Linked DNA regions of Homo sapiens: regions 2, 3 and 4 are each linked to region 1. Evidence: promoter capture Hi-C in human tissues and cell types (Jung and others, 2019). All regions are on one chromosome and are shown on one strand. The core of a region is centred on a gene start or on the middle of the fragment in contact, and the rest is flanking DNA. Distances in the headings are between cores, read along the strand shown.

Region 1 (3,698 bases), core at 782-3,281:
AACTCGAAGGGAGGAACCAAATTTTATTCATCTTTGCCTGGCAATGTTTAATATTTGGAAGAAATCTAATAGATCCTCTTTAAAGCAAGGAGTCAATGAATAAATGAAGCAAAGGAAGTCTGATTGCTAAGCTCTTTATACAAAGCCTGGCTGTGAGTCGTTTGGTCTAACAAACAATAGCCTCAGTAAATGCTGTTAAGTGAGGAGGAAGAGGAGAAGGGGGCTGAGGAGAAGGCAGGAATTCCAAGCTAGAGTAGGTCCCTGAGACAGTCCAGCCTAGTAAACCTCCGAATGGAGAAAAAAAATGCCCAAAGAGAAAGGATCTCCGCAAGGTCACACAGCCAGTGAATGGATGAGCAAGGACTAGAACCCATCACCTGAACTCCCAACCAGGCGTCTTTTCATTGCTGCATTAAGCCTAGAAAACTACAGCATAGGGCACTGAGGCCATATCGGCCACGTACGCTCTTTGACTGCCTCAGTTTCCCCCACTGCGCCCGTGCTGAGTAGCCCTGGCAAGGTTTGGATGCTTGGCTAGTTCGGCCCCCTCCCCAGTCATCAGGGCACAGCAGAGGGCGCCGGCGCCACCCCTCACCAGCACGGCCAGGCTGTCCAGGTCCACTGACGGCAGCCCCCAGCCCCCTGACCAGCAGAACAGCTCCATGGGCGCCGCCATCTTGCCCACCCTCTGTCCCGGAAACACTTCCTTGTGTGCTTCTGCCCTCCCCTGCCTGGGCCCGCCCCCCGCCACCGCCCCTCCGATCGTTGCGGTCAGGGGGCCTGGGGAGATCCCCGGGGAGGCGAGGCTTCTTCTGGCCCGACTGGCAGCTGAACTGCGGGGGACTGGGCCGCGGGCCTCGGGGGAGGGCGGCCGCCGGCCCATCCAGAGGTGGCCCACGTAGCGGGACAGCGCTGTCGGCCCGGCGCGCCTCGGAGAGTCACGGCGCCTCGTCCAAGTGGAGCCCCGAACCCCTGAAGGCGCGGCAGGCTCTGGAGAGCGGGGTCTTGTGCGCCTGGGCCAGGTCTGGGGGCTCTTGCCAAACTGCACGTGGCCTGTACTGCTCCAGGGCCCCTTGGGGCTCGTCCCCGAGCGGGGACTGCGGGGGGGTCCCCCGAGCAGCATGTTTTCCACAGCGCGTTATGTTTGGAGCGGGCCCTGCGCCGCCTGTCGCCATGGAAACAAAACAGGGGCGGTGGCGGCGGCCGGAGCGGAGGCCGGGCTGGGGCTTGGGTGGGGGAGGGGAAGAGAGGCTCGCAGGCTGTCGCTTAGGTGACGGGAACTCAGGCGCCCCTCTGCTTCATCCGGGTCACGGCCCGTCCGCTAGTACCCACAGTGTTCCACAGTCTGGTCCTTGGCTCCTCGCCTGTACCCCTGGTCTTCTGCGCCTGTCCCTGGTGTCCCTTTCCTCTTTTTTGGTTTCTTCACTCTGACCTCACTGACCACTGCTTTAGATTCTCCCTTCAGTTCCCGTCAGACGCTTCCAGACTCCCAAGCTTTCCTACGAATGAGGGAAAATGGAGAAACAGGCACTTGTCAGGGGACCCCCCACCCTAATAAAGAGCACTTGCTCCGCCAGAACAGCAAAATTCATGCCATGTGGGCATCCCTGGGCACTATAGCAAGCTAGTTGCGGCCACTCCCTTGGCATCCTTTCCTGCCAGCTGTGGAATAATGCCCACTGTCTAGCACTGCCCCTGCCAGGGGTTCTTGCCTTCCACAATCGTGGCTTCCAGAAAACAGTGGCATTCGGTAGCGCTGTGTGCCGAGACCCCCAACAATGATGACTGCGGAGAGGGAGGCACCTGGGGGAGGATCATTAGGGAGAGGTAGAAAGCAGGGAGGCCTCCAGGATTCTTTCCCAGTGCCCCTGGTTCCCAGAGCTGATGATGCCTCCAGGGTGATTGGCAGCTCTTTGTTTCAGCCCCCCCTCACCCGCCTGCTGGCCCCCCCTCCAATTCTGTCCCTCCGCCCCCCGGCTCCTGCTCTCTCCGCCTAGCCTTTTCCCCTCCCAGCTGCCTGCCTGCCAGGGGTAGTGAGCCGGCTGAGAGGCATGGAGACGCAGGAACTTCGGGGGGCCCTGGCTCTTCTCCTCCTTTGCTTTTTCACATCTGCCAGTCAGGATCTGCAGGGTAAGCCTGTCTCCATCCTCTTAGACCGCTCTCTGCTTCTTCCCCATTTGCCCTCAGCCCAAGTAGCAGAGAACATGTGGGCAAGGGGAGAGGGGAAGAGTCCAGAAATTGAGCCAGAGGAAAACTTAAGACTGCCTAGAGTTGGTGAAATTATGGCCTGGTGGAGAGGAGTGGGCACCGGAGAGTAGTGGGGGAGCTGGAACAGGACAGGGTCAGGCATGAGGCCAGGGCAGAGGACTCAGGAACTGGATGCTCAGGCTGCCTGGCTGGGGTGGTTCCTGAGCATCTGTAGGCACCCTAGGGTCTGGGAGAGCAGCCTGAAGGTGGGCGTACTGTAGGTCCCTGGGCTTCGTCCCCCTGGGCTCCTGGCTGCCCAAGGACAGGGCGGGGGTGGGGACCAAGAAGCCTGGGCTCTCCCGGAGGTCTGGTGGTGGGATGGGCCGATGGATGTGGGAGAGGTAGCTGGAGCAGATGACACAGGCATAGATTCTTTACTGGCTGGAGGGAAAACCACAGATTGGCCAGGACACAGGAGGCAGAGGAGCTGGGTCCTACATTCCCGTGGGAGATAGCCCAGATGGTGGGAGGGTTAGAGTCCTCAGTGGGCAGCTGTTCTTATCCAGAGCGAGTGTGCTGCGCCCCTAGGATGGGAGGAGGGGAACTAGGGTGTGGAACGAGCCAAACCCAGGAGTGGAAAGAGAAGCTGCCTTCCATTTCTACGTTGTGGACACCAGGTGCCACTCCTGTGGGGGATCAGCACAGCATCTCCTTTGCGCCACCTGGTGGGGGCATCTCAAATTTGTGGGGTGCTGTTTCTGTGTTTCCAAGTGAGTCTCAAACCTGCAGGTTCCTGGAAGGTAGTAATAGGCAATAATGGGGAAAGGAAGGCACAGTGCCTCTGTCCTCTGAGAGCAACAAGGGTTGAGGTTTTTTTTTGTTTTCGTTTTGTCTTTTTGAGATGGAGTTTCACTCTTGTTGCCCAGGCTGGAGTGCAATGGCGCGATCTCGGCTCACTGCAACCTCCACCTCTCAGGTTCAAGCGAGTCTCCTGCCTCAGCCTCCTGAGTAGCTGGGATTACAGGTGCCCGCCACCACGCCCGGCTAGGTGGTTTTTTTTTCTTTTTTGTTGTTGTTTTTGTATTTTTAGTAGACACGGGGTTTCACCGTGTTGGCCAGGCTGGTCTCGAACTCCTGACCTTAGGCGATCCACCTGCCTCAACCTCCCAAGGTGTTGGGATTACAGGTGCGAGCCACCATGCCCAGCCAAGGGTTGAATTTTGAGGTGACTAACGCTGCCTGGTGGTGGGGGTAGGGGGTGATGTGGGCTCGGGGGAGGGCATACCTTAGCATTTGATCCCATTCTCTAACCTTGATAACCCCTGCCTGACCAGTAATTGACCTGCTGACTGTGGGCGAGTCTCGGCAGATGGTAGCTGTGGCAGAGAAGATCCGGACAGCCTTGCTCACTGCTGGGGACATCTACCTCTTATCCACCTTCCGCCTGCCCCCCAAGCAGGGTGGTGTCCTCTTTGGCCTCTATTCTCGCCAAGACAACACTCGATGGCTGG
Region 2 (3,698 bases), core at 896-3,395, 420 kb before region 1:
TGGCTCTCAGGCAGACGAGCTTCAGTGGCTCTGAAAGAAAGAAAGGCTGGGCAGGCAACCCACCTAACCGGGCTTGTTATCAGTGTGGCTTACAGGGTCACTTCAAAAAGGACTGCCCAAACAACAATAAGCCACCCCCTTGTCCATGTCCCTTGTGCCAGGGAGATCCCTGGAAGGCACACTGCCCCTTAGGGTGAAGGTCCTCTGGGCCAGAGGCCACTAACCAGATGGTCCAACAAGACTGAGGGTGCCCAGGGCAGGCACCAGCCCAATGCCATCACCATCACAGAGCCCCAGGTAAGCTTAACCAGTGAGGACCAGGAAACTAACTTCCTCCTGGACAATGGCGTGGCCCTGTCAGTTTTACTCTTCTGTCCCAGACAACTATCCTCCAGGTCTTTCACCATCAAAGGGGTCTTAGGACACTCAGTCACTAGGTATTTCTCCCACCCCCTAAATTGTGACTGGGGAACCTTATTATTCTCACATGCCTTTCTTATTATGCCTGAGAGCCCTACTCCTTTACTAGGGAGAGACATATTAGCTAAAGCAGGGGCCATTATATACTTGAATATAGGAGAAGGAATACCTGTTTGCTGCCCTACTCAAGGAGGGAGTTAATCCTGAAGTCTGGGCAGAGGAAGAGCAAGAGCAGTATGGACAAGCAAAAAATGCTTGTCCAGTTCAAGTTAAATTAAAGGATCCTACTTTCTTTCCTTATCAAAGCAGTACCCCCTCTGACCAGAAGCCCAACAAGGGTTACAAAAGATTGTCAAAGACCTACAAGCACAGAGATTAGTAAAGCCATGCAACAGTCCAGGCAACAGTCCTATTCTAGGCATACAAAAACCCAACAGACAGTGGAGGTTAGTGAAAGACCTCTGAATTATCATTGAGGCAGTTGTTCCCCTGTATCCAGTGCCAGGACCAGCTTGGTCAGGGAGACCCTAACCCAGCAGCACTAGAGGAATTAAAGACACACATACAGAATATAGAGGTGTGAAGTGGGAAATCAGGGGTCTCACAGCCTTCAGAGCTGAGAGCCCTGAACAGAGATTTACCCACGTATTTATTAACAGCAAGCCAGTCATCAGCATTGTTTCTACAGATATTAAATTAACTAAAAGTATCCCTTATGGGAAATGAAGGGATGTGCCAAATTAAAGGAATAGGTTGGGCTAGTTAACTGCAGCAGGAGCATGTCCTTAAGGCACAGATCACTCATGCTATTGTTTGTGGCTTAAGAATGCCTTTAAGTGGTTTTCTGCCCTGGGTGGGCCAGGTATTCCTTGCCCTCATTCCGGTAAACCCACAACCTTCCAGCATGGGCTTTATTGCCATCATGAACATGTCACAGTGCTGCAGATATTTTGTTTATGGCCAGTTTTGGGGCCAGTTTATGACCAGATTTGGAGGGGCTTGTTCCCAACAATCCAGTTGTACCTAATCCTTATACTCTACTCTCCCAGATACCAGAGGAAGCAGAATGGTTTACAGTCCTAGATCTTATGGACGCTTTCTTCTGCATCCCTCTGCATCCTAACTCGCAATTTTTATTTGCCTTTAAAGATCTGTCAAACCCAGCATCTCAGCATACCTCGACTATCCTGCCATTCATTTTCAGGGCTAGGATACTAGGAGGTCTAGGAACTGGCATTGGAGGCATTACCACCTCCACCCAATTCTCTTACTGTTGGGGAAAAGCTGAGTGTTGGGAAAAAAGCTGAGTGTTGGGGAAAAAGCTGAGGCAGGGCTTGCATGTCTGATATAATGTAAAAGAGTCTTAGAACAGGTCCAGGGTCCAGGGTCCAGGGTCTAAAACCCCTTGTGGCCTTTGGAACACCAAGCTCTGTGCCAAAGGGTGAAAGGCTGCCCTGCTGCACCACACTCTAAGCCAAGGGCATAAAACCCCTCATGGCTTGAATGGAATCCAGGGCTCAGGGCATAAAACCCCTTGTGGCCTCTGGAATGTGTCTAGATTTGCTGGCTCCTTGTTTCTAGCCCTCCCAGGCTCATAGATCGATTGTGTCTTAAACTAGAAGAACATGTTCCCCATTATCTCAAGTAGCAGAACATGTTCCATATGCTTCAAAGAAAATGCTAAACTGTCACAGCTGTAGATCACACACTTGATACACTGCTTTCTTTGAACCCCCACATCCTCACCACCTGCTTCTTTGTTTGATCACCAATAAATAGTGCAGGCTTCAAGAGCTCAGGGCCTTCACAGCCTCCATACTAGCATTGACCCCCTGGTCCCACTTCTTGCACTCTTAACTTATCTCATTCCTTTGACTCCGCCGGACTTCGTAGCCCCCACAGCCTGGTGTTGGGTCTGATCACCCCAACATATTACAAATTATCACAAGAGTTAAATGATGACATGGAACGAGTTGCAGATTCACTGGTCACCTTACAAAGCTAGCTTAACTCTTTAGCAGCAGTAGCCCTCCAGAATTGGAAAGCCTTAAATTTATTAACAGCTGAAAGAAGTGGAACCTGTCTTTTTCTAGGAGAAGAGTGTTACTATTTTGTTAATCAATACAGAATTGTCACCAAAAAAGGTTAAGGAGCTTCGAGACCAGATACAGTGCCAGGCACAAGAGCTCCAAGACACAGGACTTTGGAGTATTGTCAACCAATGGATGCCCTGGTTTCTCCCCTTCTTGGGACCCTTGGTGGCTATTGTGATGTTGCTTATCTCTGGACCCTGCATTTTTAACCTCCTTGTAAAATTTGTCTCTTCCAGAATAGAATCCATGAAACTGCAAATGATTCTACAGATGGAGCCCCAAATGACCACCACTAGCACCTGCTATCGAGGACCCCTAGACTGACCCACCAATCTGTTCTTGCACCATGACACTGAAGACTCCCCTCCTGAGGAAGGCTCAACTGCAGAGCCCCTTCTACACCCCAGCTCAGCAGGAAGTAGCTAGAATGATTGTTGCCCAACTTCCCAACGGCACTTGGGCTTTCCTTTTGAGAGGAGGGACTGAGGGACTAAGTGGCTAAGTTGGCTGGACTTCCTGGGTCAATAGGGACTTCCCTAAGGGAACTTTCCCCTAAGCCAAAATGAGTTATAGCTGCAAACTAAGGGATTGAACCTTCAACCAATCATATAGGGAGTTTAAGCTCTAGCTGCAGCCTGATGTTTTTAACCAATCATGCCCACCTACCCACAAGTGGATAGAAAATAAGCTAATTCTATAGGACAGAAAAAGAAAAAGGGGAGGGGTCATAAGGGGATATAAGTATAAGACACCCAAGCCAAAAATGGCAGCCCTTTCAGGTCCCCTTCCACCATGTGGAAACTTTACTTTCACTTTAATAAATCTTGCCACTGCCAAAAAAAAAAAAAAAAAAAAAGATTAAATAGAATTGTCTATAGGATTTCATTAAAATTGGGGTTAACATTAATAGCAGACTTATGCAAGGGTAAAATTTGGCTTTCTCTCTTGAACAGGATTTTTATGTAATAGTAAAGGCTAATCAAAGCATTTTGCTTTTTCAAATTTTTGAGTCATCCTTTTGGCAAAACAAATGACTTATGGTAATCTAAAATTCTATTTCATAATATCAAGAGTTTTAAACCTGTAAGGGCCAGTCATGGTGGCTCACGCCTATAATCCCAGCACTTTGGGAGGCCGAGGCAGGTGGATCACCTGAGGTCGTGAGTTGGAGACCAGCCTGACCAA
Region 3 (3,698 bases), core at 877-3,376, 370 kb before region 1:
AAAAATTAGCTGGGTGTTGTTGTGGGCACCTTGTAATCCCAGCTACTAGGGAGGCTGAGGCAGAGAATTGCTTGAACCCGGGAGGCAGAGGCTGCAGTGAGCCGAGATCGTGCCACTGCACTCCAGCCTGGCGACAGAATGAGACTCTGTCTCAAAAAACAAACAAACAAAAAATCTATAAGCAGAGAAATCCTATCAACAAGCCAAATCAACACAAAAGAGAGGAATGTTTGCTTATTCTATTTTCCAGGGTATATACAAATCAGGACTCTGCAAGATAAGGCTGAATGCCACTAATACTATGAAAAATTGCGTACTGATTTCTGTTTTCAGTCTTTTCATGTCATTTGAACACTTCTCTGCAGAACACAAGTTAAACATTTTGCTTGTAACTGGACGGTAGGTAAGGGACAGGTTTCCTATGAGAAATGACTGATGGTTGGCCGGGCGTGGTGGCTCACGCCTGTAATCCCAGCACTTTGGGAGGCCGAGGCGGGCGATCATGAGATCAGGAGATCGAGACCACCTTGGCTAACATGGTGAAACTCTGTCTCTACTAAAAATACAAAAAATGATTGAACTCAGGAGGTGGAGGTTGCGGTGAGCCGAGATCATGCCATTGCACTCCAGCCTGGGCAACAAGAGCGAAATTCCGACTCAAAAAAAAAAAAAAAGCCAGACATGGTGGTGCACACCTGTAGTCCCAGCTACTCGGAAGGCTGAGGCAGGAGAATCGCTTGCACCGGGGATGCGGAGGTTGTAGTGAGCCAAGATCGCGCCACTGCACTCCAGCCTGGGTGACAGAGCAAGACTACATCTCAAAAAAAAAAAAATTATGGTAAAAATTAAAGATGAATGATAATTATCTCCAGCCTAATAGGAAGCCAAAACAAACAAAATTCTCAAAAATGTCATTAATATACTTCTCCATGCCGGGCGCAGTGGCTCACGCCTGTAATCCCAGTACTTTGGGAGGCTGAGGCAGGAAGATCACTTGAGGTCAGGAGTACTGGTCAACATGGCGAAACCCCATCTCTACTAAAAATACAAAAATTAGATGGGCGAGGTGGGACATGCCTATAATCCCAGCTACTTGGGAGATTGAGGCATGAGAACTGCTTGAACCCTCCCAGGTTCAAGAGGAGGTTGAAGTGGGCTGAGATCACACCACCGCACTCCAGCCTGGTCGACAGAGTGAGACTCTGTCTCAAAATAATAATAATAATAAAATATAAAGTAAAATAAAATACTTCTCCAATATTTTTCAACTGCCATCATTCTGAGCTTTTCCCCATTATCTGCCTCAAGTATTCCAAGACAAAAGAGTTCTGCTTCCAACCACAGTCTTTATTTAAAATGTAGATAATGGCTGGATGAGGTGACTCACACCTATAATGCCCACACTTTGGGAGGCCGAGGTATAAGGATCACTTGAGCCCAGGAGTTCAAGACCAGCCTGGCAAGATAGCAAGACTGCGTCTCTTAAAAACAATTAAAAAACAAAATAAAATGTAGATAAACAAATCCCAAATAGTTGCCTTAGTCTTTTGAAGCTTTTCCAAATGCATGTAAAAAGACATTTTTTTGTATTTGTAATAATCTGTAAGAAACCACAGATTCTTACACACTATTGTGTGTAAAACTCTGCCGCTACTCTGATGAAACTGTTTAGGTAGTGTTAGAGTATTAGAGTTCTCTCTCCCTTTTTTTTTTTTTTTTTTTTTGAGACAGAGTCTCACTCTGTTACCCAAGTGGAGTGCAGTGGCACAATCTTGGCTCACTGCAACCTCTGCCTCCTGGGCTCAAGCAATTCTCCTGCCTCAGCCTCCCGAGTACAGATGCATGCCACCACACTTGGCTAATTTTTTGGTGTTTAGTAGAGATGGGGTTTCACCATGTTGCCCAGGGTGGTTTTGAACTCCTCAGCTCAGGCAATCCGCCCACCTCGGCCTCCCAAAGTGCTGGGATTACAGGCGTGAGCCACCGCACCTGGCCAAATTATCTTTCTTTAAACAAACAACAAAAAGAGTATTCTTGCCTAGACAGGCCAAATGTAACTTCAGAAGGAAGTCAGAAACAGCCTGTGCCAAATTTAGAAAGGTATCCCAAAGACTATGTGCTAAAACTTCAGTGCAGTGGCGTGATCACGGCTCACTGCAACCTCGAACTCTCAGGCCGAAATGATCCTTTCACCTCAGCCTCCCAAGTAACTGGGACCACAGGTGCACACCACCACGCCTGGCTAATTTATTTTTATTATTTTTGTAGAGACAGGGCAGGGTCTTACTATGTTGCCCAGTCTGGTCTCAAACTCCTGGGCACAAGGGATCGTCCTGCCTCCATCTCCCAACATGCTGGGATTACGGGTGTGAGCCACCACACTCGGCCCTTTTTTTTTTTTTTCTTAGAGTCAGGGTCTCATTATGTTACCAAGGCTGGTTTCAAACCGCTGGCCATGCAACCTCTCCCTTCAGCCTCACGAGTAGTTGGGATTACATGTGCGAGCCACTATACCCAGAGAGAATAACAGATTCTTTTTTTTTTTTTTTTCTTTTTGAGATGGACTCTTGCTCTGTTGCCCAGGCTGGAGGGCAGTGGCCCGATCTCGGCTCACTGCAACCTCTGCCTCCCGGGTTCAAGAAATTCTCTTGCCTCAGCCTCCCAAGTAGCTGGGATTACAGACACACCACCACGCCTGGCTAATTTTTGTATTTTTAGTAGAGACGAGGTTTCACCATTTTGGCCAGTCTGGTCTCAAACTCCTCAACCTCAAGTGATCTGCCTGCCTCGGCCTCCCAAAGTGCTGGGATTACAGGCGAGAACCACAGATGCTTAAGATTATGTCGACCTAGTCTAAGGATTGAACTCGTTCAGAACTAAATCAGTGCTACATTGATCTTAATATTAATCACTGAATATTTTTCTGAAATAGGCTCTATAATAAGCAAATTAAAGGCATTATCTTACAACAGTCCCATCAGGTACACGTTATTATGCTCAGCTGAAAATAAGTATGGATAGATTAACTCCAAGGGTATATATCCTAAAATCAGGCAGTTTTAGAATTGAAATCTATGTTTGACTCTCAAGCCTTTCCCATTAGCCACTATATATGCTACACTGTCAATCAGCAAATGCCTAATGATTTCCAGTGATGGGGAACTCAATAGGAAGTCATTATGGTTTTTACACAGCTTTTAATAAAAGTTCTTCAGTAGTTCGAGGCAACATGTCTCCTTGTAGCTTCCATTCACTGTCCTAGTCTTCCTCTTGGGTTTTTTGTTTGTTTGTTTGTTTGTTTGTTTGTTTGCTTGTTTTGAGATGGAGTTTCACTCTTGTTGCCCAGGCCAGAGTGCAATGGCTTGATCTCGGCTCACCACAACCTCTGCCTCCCGGGTTCAAGCGATTCTCCCGCCTCGGCCTCCCGAGTAGCTAGGATTGCCTGCATGCGCCACCATGTCCATGTCCAGCTAATTTTGTATTTTCAGTAGAGACGGGGTTTCTCCATGTTGGTCAGGCTGGTCTTGAACTCCCAACCTCAGGTGATCCGCCTGCCCCAGCCTCCCAAAGTGCTGGGATGACAAGCGTGAGCCACCACACCTGGCCTCCTCTTGGGTTTTACAAGCCATCTTCCACATGACAGCTTTTCAATTATTAAAGGTAGTTATGGGCCGGGTGCAGTGGCTCACACCTGTAAT
Region 4 (3,698 bases), core at 378-2,877, 350 kb before region 1:
CTCCGCCTCCCAGGTTCAAGCGATTCTCCTGCCTCAGTCTCCTGAGTAGCTGGGATTACAGGCGTCCACCACCACGCCTGGCTAATTTTTGTATTTTTAGTAGAGACGGGATTTTGCCATGTTGGCCAGGCTGGTCTCGAACTCCTGACCTCAGGTCATCCGCCCACCTTGGCCTCCCAAAGCGCTGGGATTACAAGCGTTAGCCACCGCGCCCGGCCTTGCATGGGCTTTTGAACAGTCATTTCTGAATTACTTCCTGGATCCCCAGGAGTCCACAAATGTGAAGGAAAGGGAAACCCAAGTAGATCCTTCCGGTAATTTATTCTGCTTTACCCTTTAGGTAAAGGTAAAAACTACTAGATCAAGTAAACTTTGGAATTATTTGTGGACTTTAATCGTCCGTATTTCTGCTGCATTCAATTATCAAATATCAGTCAAGTGTTTTGAGAAACAAATATTCAGTAGCCACAGAAACCTAACAGGCCTATGTTTGCTTTGTTTTATTAACTCCTTGGAGGGACAGAACACTACCAATTACACCCACAAACGTTATCGACATCAACAGAACTGTAAATGACAACACGGCAATATTCTGCACTTTCCCTATGCCTAGGAGCTAATTCCACTTTACATATATTATCTTATTATTTCACACATTAACCCTGGAGGCATGTTTGGAGTTGCCTAATTTTTATGTACACTTTTTGATAAGGAACTAACAAAAATAACTTGCTGAAGGAAGAAAAGGGAGACTAAGTCCAGAACTGAATGAAAAGCACATGGTTTCTTCATCCTCCATCACCAGGCTGTCTAACGAGGCTGAAGAAGTACCATCCATGAGTAAGTGCGTCAAGGGCAAACAAACATCATCGCATATGGACAGTGGTGTGAAATTCGAGAAATCCGAGGAGGGTTAACAACAACAAAAAGCACACCACCACGCCGATCTTCCTCGGGTCCCAGGTTGGCAACTCAACGCCCGGGAGGAATCCCCCCGGAGGCGCGCCGGTCCTACTGGCCTCACTCCCTACCTCCTGGAGGTCCGGAGTCCCGCTCCTTTCCCTCAGCGGTACAATACCCGTGTCGGTCCATTCCCTCACCGTGAGTCGAGGACTAGTTCTCCTGACTAGGCGACCGGCACACACCGCCTGCGACCAGCTCCACAGCAGCGGTCCTGCTACTGCGAAGTAGGCTCAGGTCAACCGGCAGGAAACGACTCAACGCGCAGCCGCCGCGGCCTCCAACCACCGGTGGGCAGAGGGGCGCTAGGCAGTCCTCGATCCGCTCGCCGCGATCCGGCGGAGGAGGAGGAGCAGAGGGAGGCGAGCCGCAGCGCTGCGGCGAGGAGCCCAGGGAGGTAGGTTGTCGTGGGGCTCGGTCCGCCATTCTGGCAATTCCAGTCAAACGGCAAGCCCCGACCCGCTCGGCCCGTCCCTTCCTCTCCTGCCCCTGCAGCCGACAGGAATGGAACAGTCCCGCGGGGGGGATTGTGGGAGGCGCACGCGCGAGGGGTGGAGGGTGGTAGGGGGGGCTGGCGGCGGCGGCGGCGGCCGTGGCGGCGGTTGGTGGCCGTGGGGGCGGGGAAGGGGGGGGAGGAGAGAAGAGGAGGTGGAGGAGGAGGAGGAGGAGGCTTGGGCTTGCGCCGTTGAAGGTACGCGTGAGGGCCTGCGCCGGCGCCGGCTTGACAGGGCCTGAGGGGTAGTGAGGGACTGGACGAGGGGGTTCCTGTGGGTGAGCGCGTACGGGCTGGCTGGCGCGCGGGGCGGCCGAAGGTGGTGGTTGGTGGGAGCAGCCAGCGACGAGCCCGTAGACACTCGTACGCGTGCGGGCGGGCGTGCGCGCTACGCGGACGGAGTCGGGCGGAGCGGGGGACGGTGGGAAAGAACGCAAGGAGGAAGGAGTGGAAGGTTGAGGGGGGCGCTAGGCGCCCTTCGCTCCCTCCCTCTGGAGGAGCTGCCGCCGCCACCGCCGCCACTCTGCTGCTGCCGCCGCCGCCGCCGCCGCTCCCGCCGCCATTTTGGGTTCGCTTTGCGGAGGGGAGACGATCCCAGTCTCGGTTGCGGGACCCGCCTCCCCTCAGTTTGCCCCCTTTAGCCTTCCACCTTTCCCTTCTCCTCTCTCGCATTTCCGCCAGTCAGCTTACCCGCTGGCCGCCTCCTGACAAGCGGGAGGGATCCGCCGTGGACCCAGGGAAGCGGAGGAGCCTGGCGGCCACCCCCTCTTCCCCACTTCCCTGCACTCTCATCGCTCTCGGCCTCGGCCTCGGCCTCCGACACGGTGAGTAGAACGATTTGGGCCGGCATTCGGGCCTAAGCACTCTCTCAGCGATTGAATCCTGGGCTTTCTGGGAGCCACTGTCATCTCCCGGACCTGGATCTCTGAGAGAGCAGTGGTGAAGATGGGGGAGGGGAGAGCAGGGAGGGGGATCCTGAGCCTACCGGGAAGTCCCTCCAGGCGGGGTGAAGGGGTGTCCCTGACAGGCAGACTCCCGGAGGGGGCTGGGAAGTAAGCGAGTGGAGGCGGAGTCGGCTGTGCCCCTGACAGGTTAGTTTGTGTTTGTAGGCATGATCGGAGCCTCCCCCATAGTCCAGTTTGTGTGTGTTTAATTAAGGGATAAGAGTGGTCGAGGACACGATCTTGAGAGGGGATTTTACCTGTGTGACAAGGTCTGTGGTGTCCCTGCCGCGTTGAACGGTATGTGGGAACGACAGGATGATCTCAGTGTTGTAAGTTTAATAAATGTCACTGGTTAGTTTGTACATGGAAAGAGATGTTTTTGGTCTAGCAGACAGATGGTCTGTTGGTGTGTAGCGGCTGTGTTGGTGTGTGTATGTGAGGATGGCAAGTGTTTCCGTAAGAGTTTGCCTTTATTTGTGTAAGTGTAATGGAGTTCCCCTTATAAGTTAGCTTATTTCTTGAATAAATGTTGGGAGGTTCCTTGCAGGTTGATATGTGTGTGTATTTTAGGGATTGGGAGCCCCTAGTTACTTGTTGGGAAAGAGCGGCAATGGTAGTGTTCTGTACAGCATGTGTCTGTGAGGTCAGGGAGGGGAGAAACTTGGCATAGCCAGTTGTGGTCTTAAGAATAGTTTGTGCCTTTGGTTAGAGTGAGTTGTGTAAATGTGAAGGGCCAAAATATCTTTAACAGAATCATTACTACAAAGTTGTAAAGAATGGGTGGCCTTATTTGTTGTCGCGGGTTTATAGTAATAGTTTACAATACAATAAGAAAGCTCTTTCAGTTTTTTTGTGATACTGAATCTCTGTGAAAATGGTAGGATGCTTTCTTCCATTTTACAAAATAGGAAATTTAGGCATAAGGAGAGAACTTCTCCAAGGCCGCATGTTAAATTGGTGACAAAGTTGGAACTGTAACTCCCATATTTTCACTACTACTGCAGCAGTATATTCAGCATACCATGGTGCCTCAGGAAGTCTTTGTCGGCAAATCTGAGTATGCTGGAAAGATAGGAGCACATAAGACTGGTTGGCTTGTATTTGGGGGAGACCGATTGTGTCAGATATGTATGTGGAACGTAGCTGTCCTTGCCGAGTCTGACCTGTATGAAATGCATATCCATGACTATATTATTTTGGATTTATGGAGGAAGCAGAGCATTTCTGACACTTGAGGTTGTATGTGTGAGGGAGAGAAGGCTTTCACAGCTTAACTTGTACCAGAGCAGCTGCATGGGTGC

The links. The method cuts DNA at HindIII sites, captures the fragments that hold promoters and counts their contacts. A contact is called where the count stands out against the background at its distance.
Region 2: a contact is called between a fragment that was not itself captured here and the fragment with the promoter of THBS3 in region 1, in 1 of the 25 tissues and cell types used here (liver).
Region 3: a fragment that was not itself captured here is called in contact with the fragment with the promoter of THBS3 in region 1 in 1 of the 25 tissues and cell types used here (liver).
Region 4: a contact is called between the fragment with the promoter of ASH1L here and the fragment with the promoter of THBS3 in region 1, in 3 of the 25 tissues and cell types used here (IMR-90 fibroblasts, heart left ventricle and lymphoblastoid cells).

The regions. Positions count from the first base shown.
Region 1 is chr1:155,206,230-155,209,927 of GRCh38, reverse strand. THBS3 (thrombospondin 3) reads left to right here and starts at 2,031. Exons shown (of 23, transcript NM_007112.5): 1 at 2,031-2,130; 2 at 3,522-3,698. The coding sequence starts at 2,052. MTX1 (metaxin 1) reads right to left here and starts at 1,233. Exons shown (of 8, transcript NM_002455.5): 1 at 596-1,233. The coding sequence starts at 1,123. RefSeq lists a silencer at 684-883 and an enhancer at 2,247-3,030. The HindIII fragment of the contact is 12,638 bases long and covers 679-3,698 here.
Region 2 is chr1:155,621,688-155,625,385 of GRCh38, reverse strand. It overlaps the pseudogene LOC100419798. Among named protein-coding and RNA genes, the nearest start is that of MSTO1, 13 kb to the right of the region's middle. The HindIII fragment of the contact is 8,414 bases long and covers 1-3,698 here.
Region 3 is chr1:155,578,934-155,582,631 of GRCh38, reverse strand. It overlaps a transcript of MSTO1 not described here. Among named protein-coding and RNA genes, the nearest start is that of ASH1L, 18 kb to the right of the region's middle. The HindIII fragment of the contact is 8,727 bases long and covers 1-3,698 here.
Region 4 is chr1:155,560,732-155,564,429 of GRCh38, reverse strand. ASH1L (ASH1 like histone lysine methyltransferase) reads left to right here and starts at 1,627. Exons shown (of 28, transcript NM_018489.3): 1 at 1,627-2,277. It overlaps ASH1L-AS1 (ASH1L antisense RNA 1), which reads right to left and starts at 2,388. Exons shown (of 2, transcript NR_147964.1): 1 at 2,144-2,388; 2 at 486-1,180. It also overlaps a transcript of MSTO1 not described here. RefSeq lists silencers at 118-412, 1,497-1,636, 1,687-1,836, 3,558-3,698 and an enhancer at 1,041-1,608. The HindIII fragment of the contact is 36,648 bases long and covers 1-3,698 here.